4 separate regions of the Homo sapiens genome follow, and all the other regions are linked to region 4. The links are contacts of gene promoters, found by promoter capture Hi-C in human tissues and cell types (Jung and others, 2019). All regions are on one chromosome and are shown on one strand. The core of a region is centred on a gene start or on the middle of the fragment in contact, and the rest is flanking DNA. Distances in the headings are between cores, read along the strand shown. Region 1 overlaps LOC105372505 (a long non-coding RNA gene). Region 2 overlaps PDYN-AS1 (PDYN antisense RNA 1). Region 3 has its middle 10 kb from the start of STK35. Region 4 holds the start of TGM6 (transglutaminase 6).

Region 1 (2,801 bases), core at 264-2,763, 260 kb before region 4:
TATATACCACATCTACCCCAACTATGACCTTGGGCCTTTCTTCATGTTTTTCAAGCTAATACTATATTGAAAGATAAAGTATCTGGCACAACACTGCAGACAGTTGTCTTTAATAGCAATCCTCACACTCTATAAACAAACCTGCTTAGAATATTTGATGGTACTCACACACCTGGTGATTTTGCCATTGAAAATTATACTTCAGTTTTTATTCCCTAGGAATCAAAAGGGATAAAGTTCCTATCTTATTTTTGTTTTTGAGACAGGGTCCCTCACTTTGTCACCCAGGCTGTAGTGCAGTGGTGTGGTCTCGGCTCACTGCAACCTCTGACTCCTGGGCTCAAGCGATCCTTTCCATCTCAGCCTTCCGAGTAGTTGGAACTACAGGCATGCACTGGCTAATTTTTGTATTTTTTGTAGAAATGGGGTATCACCATTTTGCCCAGGCTGGTCTCGAACTCCTGGGCTCAAGCAATCCACTTGCCTCAGCCTCCAAAATGCTAGGATTACAGGCATGAGCCACCATGCCTGGCCTCTATCCTTAGTTTTAAAGTCATCTCTTGGGAACAGCTTATAGGATTTTAAAATCTCCATCAGATAGTCTTTGCCTTCTATCTAGAAGTTTAGTCCGTTTGCATTTATTTTGATTCCTGATATATTTTGGTTTATTTCTTTCGTCTTATGTGCTTTATATTTTATTTGTTGTGCTATTTTTGTTTATTTGCCTTTTTTCTTCCTGTTTTGGAGGCACTATCAACCTAATGCCACTTTTTTTTTTCTTTTCTGAGATGGGGTTTTGCTCTTGTTGCCCAGACTGGAGTGCAATGGTACAATCTCGGCTCACCACAACCTCCGCCTCCCGGGTTCAAGCGATTCTCCTGCCTCAGCCTCTCGAGTGGCTGGGATTACAGGCATGAGCCAACATGCCCAGCTGATTTTTGAATTTTTGGTAGAGACGGGGTTTCACCATGTTGGACAGGATGGTCTCGGCCTCTTGACCTTGTGATCCACCCGTCTTGGCCTTCCAAAGTGCTGGGATTACAGGTGTGAGCCATCACGCCTGGCCTGAAAGTCTTGAAAAAAATAAATTAAAATTTTCATTTGAGTTTTTTGGAACATACAGATACAGTTGACCCTTGAACAACATGGGTTTGAACTTCACAGATCCACTTATATGTGATTTTCTTCCATCTCTGCCACCCCTAAGACAGCAAGACCGACCCCTTTTCTTCCTCCTCCTCCTCCTCCTCAGCCTACTCAGCATGAAGATGACAAGGATGAAGACTTACGATGATCCACTTTTGCTTGATGAATATTAAATATATTTTCTCCTCTTCATGATCTTCTTAATAACATTTTTTCCTAGCTAGCTTATTCTATTGCAAGAATACAGTATTAATACATGTAACATATAAAATTTGTGTTAACTGACTTTATGTTATCAGTAAAACTTCCATTCAACAGCAGACTACCATTAGTTAACTTCTGGGGAAGTCAAAAGCTATACATGGGTTTTTGACTGCAGGGGGGTCAGCACTCCTAGACCCAGTGTTGTTCAAGGGTCAACTGTAGCATATGAATTTAGAGCCTCTCTGTGAGAGCTGCCTTGTGGCTAGAACTTCTCAATGGAGACTTTTTCTCCTCTACTTTCTGCCAAGGTCAAGAGAAATACATGTCTCTTTCTGCATGGCGGGTTTATTTTTTATTGTCCATTATTGAGCATGAGGAACTTGGTGCTCCAGCTTTGGGTGGGTCTCTACCCACCCACTTCAGAGCACGTCTGAAGTGACTTTACTGAGCTGAGCGTTACCACCATAGTGAGTGCTATTGGTAACCTGCCCAGATCACCTTACTGGCTGGTGCATCAGCCCCTCCCCTTAGTTTCTGCGAGTGTGCAAATCAGTGGGAGACCAGGTATCCCCTTTGATCTTCTTCATCTAAAGTGTCTTCCTACTTATGTGATTCTGTGTACTATGGAGCTCTTAGGAAATAGAAATGGAAGTTGAAGTTATTAGAAGTGAAAGGATCAGCCTACAAAAATAGCTTCCAACAGATAAAATCCAGCATCTGCTCCATTTCTCTCCAGTTAGGAATGCGCAGCCAAACTAGGGTAATATCAGCAGGACACCAGTTATATTTCTCTGGATAAATGGTTAATTTTCTTCTTTCTTTTTTTTCTTTTCTTTTCAGACGGAGTCTTGCTCTGTCACCCAAGCTGGAGTACAGTGGTACAATCTCGGCTCACTGCAACCTCCGCCTCCTGGGTTCAAGCGATTCTCCTGCCTCAGCCTCCCAAGTAGCTGGGATTACAGAAGCGCACCACCACACCTGGTTAATTTTTGTATTTTTAGTAGAGACGAGGTTTCACCATGTTGGCCAGGCTGGTCTCAAACTTCTGACCTCAAGTGATCCACCCACCTCGGCCTCCCAAAGTGCTGGGATTACAGGCATGAGCCACCACGCCTGGCCAGAGTTGTCTTGATAGAGGTCTTGTAATTATTTGAATTAGAAAATTTTCTGTTAAAATATGTCCACAAATTCTTTGGTAACCCTCCCTTCAAGAAGTGAAGCCTAAATCCCTTCCCTTCCAGTGTGAGCTAGACTTAGTGACTCAGTTCTATGAGTAAAAGTGGTGGAACTGATAGTGTGACTTCTGAGACTAGGTCATAATAGGCATTGTGGCTTCCTCCTTGCTCTCCCTCTCAGATCACTTGCTCTGGGGGAAACCAGCAGCCATGTTGTGAGGACACCCAAGCAGCTCTATGGAGAGGCCTACATGGAGAGTAACCAAGGTCCCCTAT
Region 2 (2,700 bases), core at 69-2,568, 420 kb after region 4:
TGTCATTTGCTTAATGTTGTGAGAGTCTCAAGTATAATCTCGTAAGGCAAAGTGGTATAATATCAGTCGGAAGTAGAAGGTAGAGACTGTGATGAATTAATGTGCTTGGGGTTCACTGGGTTTCTTCAGTCTGTGAATTTTGTTTACATCAAATTTGGCAAATTTTCAACCATTATTTCTCCTTCAAGCTCTCTCATATATATATATATATATATTTGATCTATATATACACACACATATATACACATATGTATATATTTATCTGCTTATAAATATGTCTATCTGCTTATACACATACCTATGTGTGAGGGTGTGTGTGTTGTGTGTTGTGTGTATATGTATATTATACTGGAAGTTGTCCCACATTTTGCTGATACTCTGTTCATTTTTTTTTTTCAGTCTTTTTTTTCTCTATGGTTCATTCTGGATAGTTTCTCTTGCTATATATTTAATTTCACTAATCTTTTTTATACGAGCCTTTTTGCTGTCTTCCATATCACAATTTAGTAACTCAGTCCTTCCTCTAGTTTCCTGAACCTATGAAATACAGCTATAATCATGGTTTTAATGTCTTTATTTATCAGTTCTATCATTTGTGTCATTTCCGGGTCAGTTTCCAATGATCAAATTTTCTCCTCATTAATGGATTGAATTTCCTTGCTTCTTTGCATGCCTGGCAATTTTTTTAATGGATACCAGACACTGAATTTACATCATCATGTGCTAGGTTTTTTTGTGTGTGTTTCTATAAATATGTTTGATTTTTTTTTTTCTGGGACACAGTCAAGTTCCTTGGAATTAGTTTAATCTTTGCTTTTAAACATTTTTAGATGGAACCATATCCATGTTTAGAGCAAATTTTGTCCAGCTACTAAGGAAGAAACCTTGTGAATCCTCTGCCTAAAGCCCTGTGAGATTTTTCACTCTGGCTCCTAAGAACAGAGACTATTCCCAGCCCTGTGGGGGAACCTGGGGTTGTTCCCTCTAATCTAATCAGGTGGTTCTTTGCTCCTCAGGTAGGTTTCATACATGCACATGCTCATTAGTACTCAGAAGACAGGAGGGGCTCTCTGCTGATCGCCAGAGGTCACCTGTGCTCTTGAACCTGCTCCTCCCCACAAGCTCTCTTCTCAGTGATACTCTGCCCTGTGAACTCCAGACACCTTGGCCTCTGGATTAATGCGTTTGCATTGCTACAACAAAAATACCCAAGTCTGGGTAATTTATAAAGAACAGAAATTTATTTCTCATGGTTCTAGAGGCTGGGAAGTTCAAGATCAAGATGCCAGTGTTGGATGTCTAGTGAGAGCTGTTCTCTGCTTCCAAGATGACGCCTTCAATGCTGTGTCCTCCAGAGGGGAGAAATGCCATGTCCTTATATGGCAGAGGGCAGAAGGGCAAAAGGATAGACTACCTTCATGAAGCCCTTTTATAACAACATTAATCCATTCATGAGGGCAGAGTCCTCATGACTAAACACCTTCCAAAAGGCCCCATCTCCCAACACTATTGCATTAGGGGTTAGGTTTCAACATAAATTTAATTTTTTTTTTTTTTTGGAGATAGGGTTTTGCTCTGTTAACCAGGCTGGAGTGCAGCGGTATAACCATGCCTCATTGCAGCCTTAGTCTCCTAGACTCAAGTGTTCCTCCCACCTCAGCCTCCTGAGTAGCTGGGACTACAGGTGTGCATCACCATGCCTGGCTATTTAAAAAAATTTTATTTTGTAGAGATGGGGTCTCACTATGTTGTACAGGCTTATTTTGAACGCCTGGCCTCAAGCAATCCTCCTGCCTTGGCCTCCCAAAGTGTTGGGATTAAGGGCGTGAGCCACTGTATCCAGCCTCAACATAATTTTTTACAGGGGACAAAAACATTCTAACCATAGCAGCCACCCAGCTCCATCTCTTCAACTCAGGAAGACCCCCGGGCCCTACCTGGACTCCCTGTCCTGTGCCGTGGCCTGAAAACTCTCTCCAGATAGTAAGCAGAGGCAATTGCTAGGCTCTCTTTTGTTTTCTCTCTCTCAGGGATCACGGTTCTGTGTTGCCTGATGTCCAATGTCTTGAAAACTGTTGATTCATATGTTTTCCCCAGATTTTTTTGTTTCAGCTAAGAGGATAAACCCATTCTCTGTTATTCCACCTTGACCAGAAGGAGAAGTCAGTGAATGAACCCAGATCTCTTCTAGAGGAACAAATATATTTCCAGGGGTTTAAGTTGGGCAACCAGGATCTATTGGTCTAAGCCATCCTAATTCCTCTACTAAATTTTTTTTTCAAAAATACTGGATGCACCAAACAAGACCTTCTATATGCCATATTTGGCCCTTGGGCTGCAATTGTGAGAATCCTGGAAACAGGAAACTTTACTTGTTTCCAGGTATTTTTTACCTGTCATTTTAACTAGTTTAAGCCTAAAAATAGTCTTTGCATATTACTGTCCAAAGCTAGGAGTTGAAAGAAACAGGATTTGAACCCAGGTCCTCTCTGACTTCAAAGATACCATCATTTCCTTCATTAGATTCCTACCCCATTGTTTTCATTTGCACTGTTATATTTCACATTATTTTGTGTGTATTCTCCCACCCCACCACCCTGCACTTTGAGACTTCCTTGTCTTTGCATCCTCTAAGTTTAGCAGAGGGCCTGACCTGTAAGAGATGTTGAGAGAATTTTTGTGGAACAAATAACTTCTCTC
Region 3 (2,700 bases), core at 68-2,567, 290 kb after region 4:
AATGAGCAGGGCAAAGTCCTTAATTCTGTAACTACTGGGACATTCAAAATAAATTATTGGGGCGTCTGGTTAAAATGTACACAACCATAAGGCAACAAAGTACACTCACTAATCAAAATGTAAAGTGATACAGTCTTTTAGAAAGGCAAATTGATAACTCATTGTTTATTAATATAATTAAAAATTAATACACTTTGATCAGCTATTCCGTTTCTAGGAATTTATCCTATAGAAGTACTCACATGGTGTGGAAAAATATATGTGCAACAAGGATTTTATTGTGGTGAGATATATATATATATATATATAAAATAATAATAAAATATTAGAAACAATACCAAAAGTAGAGGCTTGGTTACACAGGGTCATCATATATTTAAATACATGCCCATCAAAAGAAGGAGTTAGCTCTGTATGTACTACCATACAATACATGTACACAATATTTTGTTACATAAAAAAGCAAATGCAAACAAGCATCTATAATATGACCACATTTTGTTTAAACATGTATACATAATTGCTAACCTTCATTGAGTTACTTCTGTGTATTCTGATGGTTCTAAGTGCTCATATGTAATAATTAATTAATTAATCCAATAAGCCTTAGGGTAGGTTTTATTTTTAGCTCTATTTTCCATAGAAACTGAGGCACAAAGAGGTTATTACTTTTTCAAGGCTATACCACTAAAAAGCGATGGAACTTGGATTCCAACCCTGGTGTATCTGATTCCAAAGCTCTTGATCTTGAACTAGCACATGATACAGCGTTTGTACTTACATGTTAATTTCTGTATACATAATGGAAACATTTGTATAAATAATACTCTAGATGCCAAGAATTCTCCCTAGGTGATTCTTTCACTTTCAGGATAATTTTGTATGATTTGAAGTTTTTATGTGCATATTTGGGTATTAATTTGAGTTCTTTTTTGTAGGTATTTAAAAAAATAAAATTCAGTTTAAAAAACAAGTAACGTACAATAGTGTAGAATGTACTTCATCACTCATTTGGTCAATGAGTACTTATTAAGCCCCTACTGTTTGCCAGACTGGGGACTGAGATGAATTGAACTCAGTTCCTATTGTAGAGGAACTCATTGTTTAGAGAAGACACGAAGAAACATCCAGTCTTGAGTCTTTTCCAGCTCTATCGCACTGTGATGCTGTTTTAGAGTTTGGTTGGTCAGTGAGAAATGAGGCTGAGCCAGTTATCAACACTCACGGTGTGCCTCTTTCAACTAATGGGAACCAGGGTCTGTGTTGGGCTCTGGACTTTATATACTACCTTTCTTTCTTTATAGAAATTATTGTAGGTTCAGCAAACATTTACTATATGTTAGCCCCCGTGTTTGAGTTGGGGATCCTGGGATGAATAAGACAGGGTCCCTGGTGGTAAAATCTCATCATATGGTGAAGAAAACTGATGTGTTTACAAACAGTTAAGTTCTCCCTTGCTGAAAATAATAACTAACATTTAAGAAGCATTTACCAGACACTGTTATAAACACTTCTCAATATAATAATTTATTGAATTCTCAATCCTGTTATTATCTCTACTTGACAGATGAGGAAACAGAGACACAGACAAGTTATGCAGCTTGCTTAAGATCATACAGCTAGGAAATTAGCCGGGCACGGTGGCTCATGCCTGTAATCCCAGCGCTTTGGGAGGCTGAGGCAGGTGGATGACCTGAGGTCAGGAGTTCGAGACCAGCCTGGCCAACATGGTGAAACCCCATCTCTACTAAAAATACAAAAATTAGCCAGCCATTGTGGTGCATGCCTGTAATCCCAGCTACCTGGGAGGCTGAGGCAGGAGAATGGCTTGAACCCAGGAGGTGGAGGTTGCAGTGAGCTGAGATCGTACCACTGCACTCCAGCCAGCCTGGGCGACAGAGCAAGACTCCGTCTCAAAAAAAAAAAAAAAAAAAAAAATTCCCACAACTTGGAAATAGTTCAGGGGAGTCCCACCTGGAGAAGTGCTTAGAGGAGCATAGCCAAAGAGTCCACCCTGTGGTAGAAAAGTCATAATAAAAATAGTATTAACCACCATAACAGTACTTGTCACAAATCATACAAAGCTTTGTGGGATTTAAAGTGCTTTCACCTATTAGACATGTCTCAACATAGGGTGGCCCAAAATGTAAGGTGTCCCTCTCACTTGTCACACTAAGAAGATTGCAGAAGAGAAAATATTTGGGGTCTCAACTTGAATATATAAATTCTTAAGGTGGTATAAATAATCAAATATCTGTGTAATATTTAATTTATTATTTTAGGTACATACACACTTTCAACATTGAGAAATATTGGATTTTCTCCCATTCTTCCATTTCACAAAACAATTCTTTTCATCTCTTTCTGAGCACCTTTGATCTCAGTCACTGGGGATGATTTCTATGTCGCTCAGCCTTCTTTCTAGGTCACATAATTTTCACTCCTATCCAAATTGTGATCCAGTACTTTTTGAGCCTCTATATGATGCTTTCTCTGAAATATTTTATCTTAGAATTCCCAGTGCACTAAATCTTAGGACAGATTGTTTTTCCATTTCTCCCATTGGTTTATATTTGTGATCACAACATCCAAACATTTTATGTATTGCTTTTAAAAGTGCTCTTTCTTAAGGCTTACATCTTTATAAAGTGTGTGAGGTCAGTCCCCAGTGTAATGACTTACATCCATGTCGAAAATTGC
Region 4 (2,700 bases), core at 27-2,526:
GATGAGGAAATTCAAATATCTGCCTTTGAAAGTTAAAAAAATATTTGATTCATAAAACTGTCACATAATGCTGAACAATTAAAACTGGCAGACACAGACTCAGAAACACCCCTTGAATACCTGTGAGTGTAGGACCCCTGGTTCTGCTGACTTGCTCATTACCGGGCCCCAGCATCTAAGACAAGTTCTTGCAGAGGGAGTTTGCTGCTCACTATATTGAGGTCGTGGGGGACACATTATCTTACTTTCTTTTTTTTTTGAGACAGGGTCTCACTCTGTTGCCCAGCCTGCAGTGCAGTGGCACCATCTTGGCTCACTGTAGCCTCTACCTCCTAAGCTCAAGCGATCCTCTCACCTCAGCCTCCCAAGTAGCTGGGACTTTGGGTGTTCCCCACCATGCCTAGCTAATTGTTGTATTTTTTTGTAGAGACGGGGTTTTGCCACATTGCCCAGGCTGGTCTCAAACTCCTGAGCTCAAGAATTCCACCCCCTTCAGCCTCCCAAAATGCTGGGATTAGAGGCGTGAGCCACTGTGCCCGACCCACATTTTCTGAGTCTACTGTTTACAAGTCCCCACTTGAGATGTGTGGTGGGAGAACAGCACACGTGGTCTCACCAACTCCTCACAGCAAGGCTGTGAGATAATTTGCATTATAATCCCCATTACACAGATCAGAAAACAGAGGTACCAAGGGCAAATTTTCTTGCTCAAGGTCATATAGCTGTTTTCACTTGAGCCAGAGCTGCTCTTGCCCTCAAGTGCTTGGGGTGGGAATCAGGCGAGGATGCAGCCGGTGGGGGCCTCTCACTCCTTCCCACGCAGGCCACAATTCCCAACTATGCCCAGAAACGTCTCTGGATCCATGGAATGTGCATGGGGTGCAAGGAGATTTTCTTTTTTCTGCCCCTGCCTTCCTGTGCCTGCCTCCTTCAGTCCTCCGAGGCACAGGGGTGAGACCTGGCCCCAGCCCAGGAGACAGCGCCTGAGCCAGCCTGGGCCATGGCCTTGCTGGGTGGCTTAAAGCTGGCTTTTTCATCCTGGGCCTCATGAATCCACACGAAGAGTTCATGTGTTCATGGTGGACTATCCAGCTGTAAAATCCTAACAATCGATGATCAAACGTCATCCCACAGACCCGTGTTTCTTGAAGCCCCCCTCATGAGCCCTGGTGTCCCAAGGCCCCAGGCTCTGCCCACTTACCTGCCATGTGAAGGCCAGCTGGACTCCTCTGTTCCTCCACACAGCAGTGTGTGCACCGTCAGGACAGTGTGGCGCGTCACAGCAGCCAGCCAGACCAATTTTAACAAGGAAAACCTTGGGACACTCCTAGGCAGGAAAGTCAGAATTCAAAAGAGGAGGCGTGGCCCTCCACCCTAGCAGCGACACCCACGAGACACAAAATCATCCTGTAATTGCACCTAGAGGGGTTCACTGTGGGAGTGGCTCCTGCCAAGAGACCTTGGAAACACGGAGTTGCGAATGGGACTGTGGAGAAACTGAGGCTCAGAAAGGTCACAAGCCTGGCAAGAAAAAGAACGGGGAAAGAGAGAAGACTGAGGGAACTCGGATTTATGGTTGGCCATTCTTAGCCCTCACAACAACCCTCAAATGAGAAAAAACAGGCTCAGCGCCAGGACCCCGAAGTACATGGTTGCACGCTGCAGTGCCGGGTCAGTCTGTGGCTCCCTCTCCCCTCCTGGGTGAGAGCAGAAGACTCCTGGGCCCACAGCTCCACTCTGTTCTGCAGGCATCTAAAGAGGCAGAGGTCCATGATCCTCCTTCAGGGCCACTAGACTTCCTTGGTGGACACTAGACTCTTGAGAGGAGGTAGATAAGAAAAAGGGGAGAGCTGGTTCTGACTCAGAAGCTAGGCCCATCTGCCCTGACTTTGTGAGTGGCCTCCAGCCAGGAGCTTAGAGGCCTGGTGGCCATGGGTGTCCCGTGACCTTGGACAAGACCTCTCCCCTCCTGGAACCCTGGTGTTTCTACCTACAAACTAAAGGGATTGGACTCAATTATTCTTCAGGGCCATTCCAGCTCAAAGTCTAAGATTCTGGGCTTGAAGGTGCTGGAATTCAAGGCATCTGAGGTCTTTTGTTAATGAAATAGAGGGGATTTTATTTTCATGGAAGCCGGTGGGGTAGGTTTCTTTTTGCCGGAGAAATGCTTTGATGGATGACTTGGGGCTATCGAAGGCTGGATGTGGCCTGGGCCAGTGAGGAAGGGGAAGTGGGAGGGGGTAGAATCGAGGGAAAGAGACAAGGAAGGGTAAGGAGACAACCGTGTGCTGAGCACAGTAGGATGAGGCCGCTCCCTGGGATCACCCCAACATTCAGGAAACTGCATAAAAACCCCAAAGTGTTTGATGTGGTTGGATTTCTTACAGAAAGTGGCAAAGAGGCTGAGTTCTGCTTCCTGGTTTCACGCAGATCAAGCGTCTTTAATGAGCTGTCTGCAGACCCACATAGCCTTATAATTACTGACATCTGGCAGCAGCCCAGGGCAGCTCCTTCCTCAACACCCTGCAGGCTGCTGCCCTGTAGACCCTGGGCCCTGCTGAAGCTGCTTTTCTGCCTATGCAGGGTCAGGCTCCTCCCCACTAATGATGGTCTTATTCAGGGCCCTTTTATCTTTCATCCTGGGCTTGCTTGGACGGGAGCTCCCAGAAGACAGGGCATCAAAATCACTGCCTGCCCCAC

The links. The method cuts DNA at HindIII sites, captures the fragments that hold promoters and counts their contacts. A contact is called where the count stands out against the background at its distance.
Region 1: a fragment that was not itself captured here is called in contact with the fragment with the promoter of TGM6 in region 4 in 1 of the 25 tissues and cell types used here (mesendoderm cells).
Region 2: a contact is called between a fragment that was not itself captured here and the fragment with the promoter of TGM6 in region 4, in 3 of the 25 tissues and cell types used here (IMR-90 fibroblasts, dorsolateral prefrontal cortex and lymphoblastoid cells).
Region 3: a fragment that was not itself captured here is called in contact with the fragment with the promoter of TGM6 in region 4 in 1 of the 25 tissues and cell types used here (hippocampus).

Annotation. Positions count from the first base shown.
Region 1 is chr20:2,643,771-2,646,571 of GRCh38, reverse strand. LOC105372505 (a long non-coding RNA gene) reads left to right here. Exons shown (of 5, transcript XR_007067502.1): 2 at 2,191-2,801. Among named protein-coding and RNA genes, the nearest start is that of NOP56, 7.5 kb to the left of the region's middle. The HindIII fragment of the contact is 9,020 bases long and covers 1-2,801 here.
Region 2 is chr20:1,957,295-1,959,994 of GRCh38, reverse strand. All of the region lies in intron 2 of PDYN-AS1 (PDYN antisense RNA 1), which reads right to left. Among named protein-coding and RNA genes, the nearest start is that of PDYN-AS1, 11 kb to the right of the region's middle. The HindIII fragment of the contact is 7,949 bases long and covers 1-2,700 here.
Region 3 is chr20:2,090,256-2,092,955 of GRCh38, reverse strand. No RefSeq gene overlaps it. Among named protein-coding and RNA genes, the nearest start is that of STK35, 10 kb to the left of the region's middle. The HindIII fragment of the contact is 4,435 bases long and covers 1-2,700 here.
Region 4 is chr20:2,379,477-2,382,176 of GRCh38, reverse strand. It overlaps TGM6 (transglutaminase 6), which reads right to left and starts at 1,276. Exons shown (of 13, transcript NM_198994.3): 1 at 1,202-1,276. The coding sequence starts at 1,208. The HindIII fragment of the contact is 30,296 bases long and covers 1-2,700 here.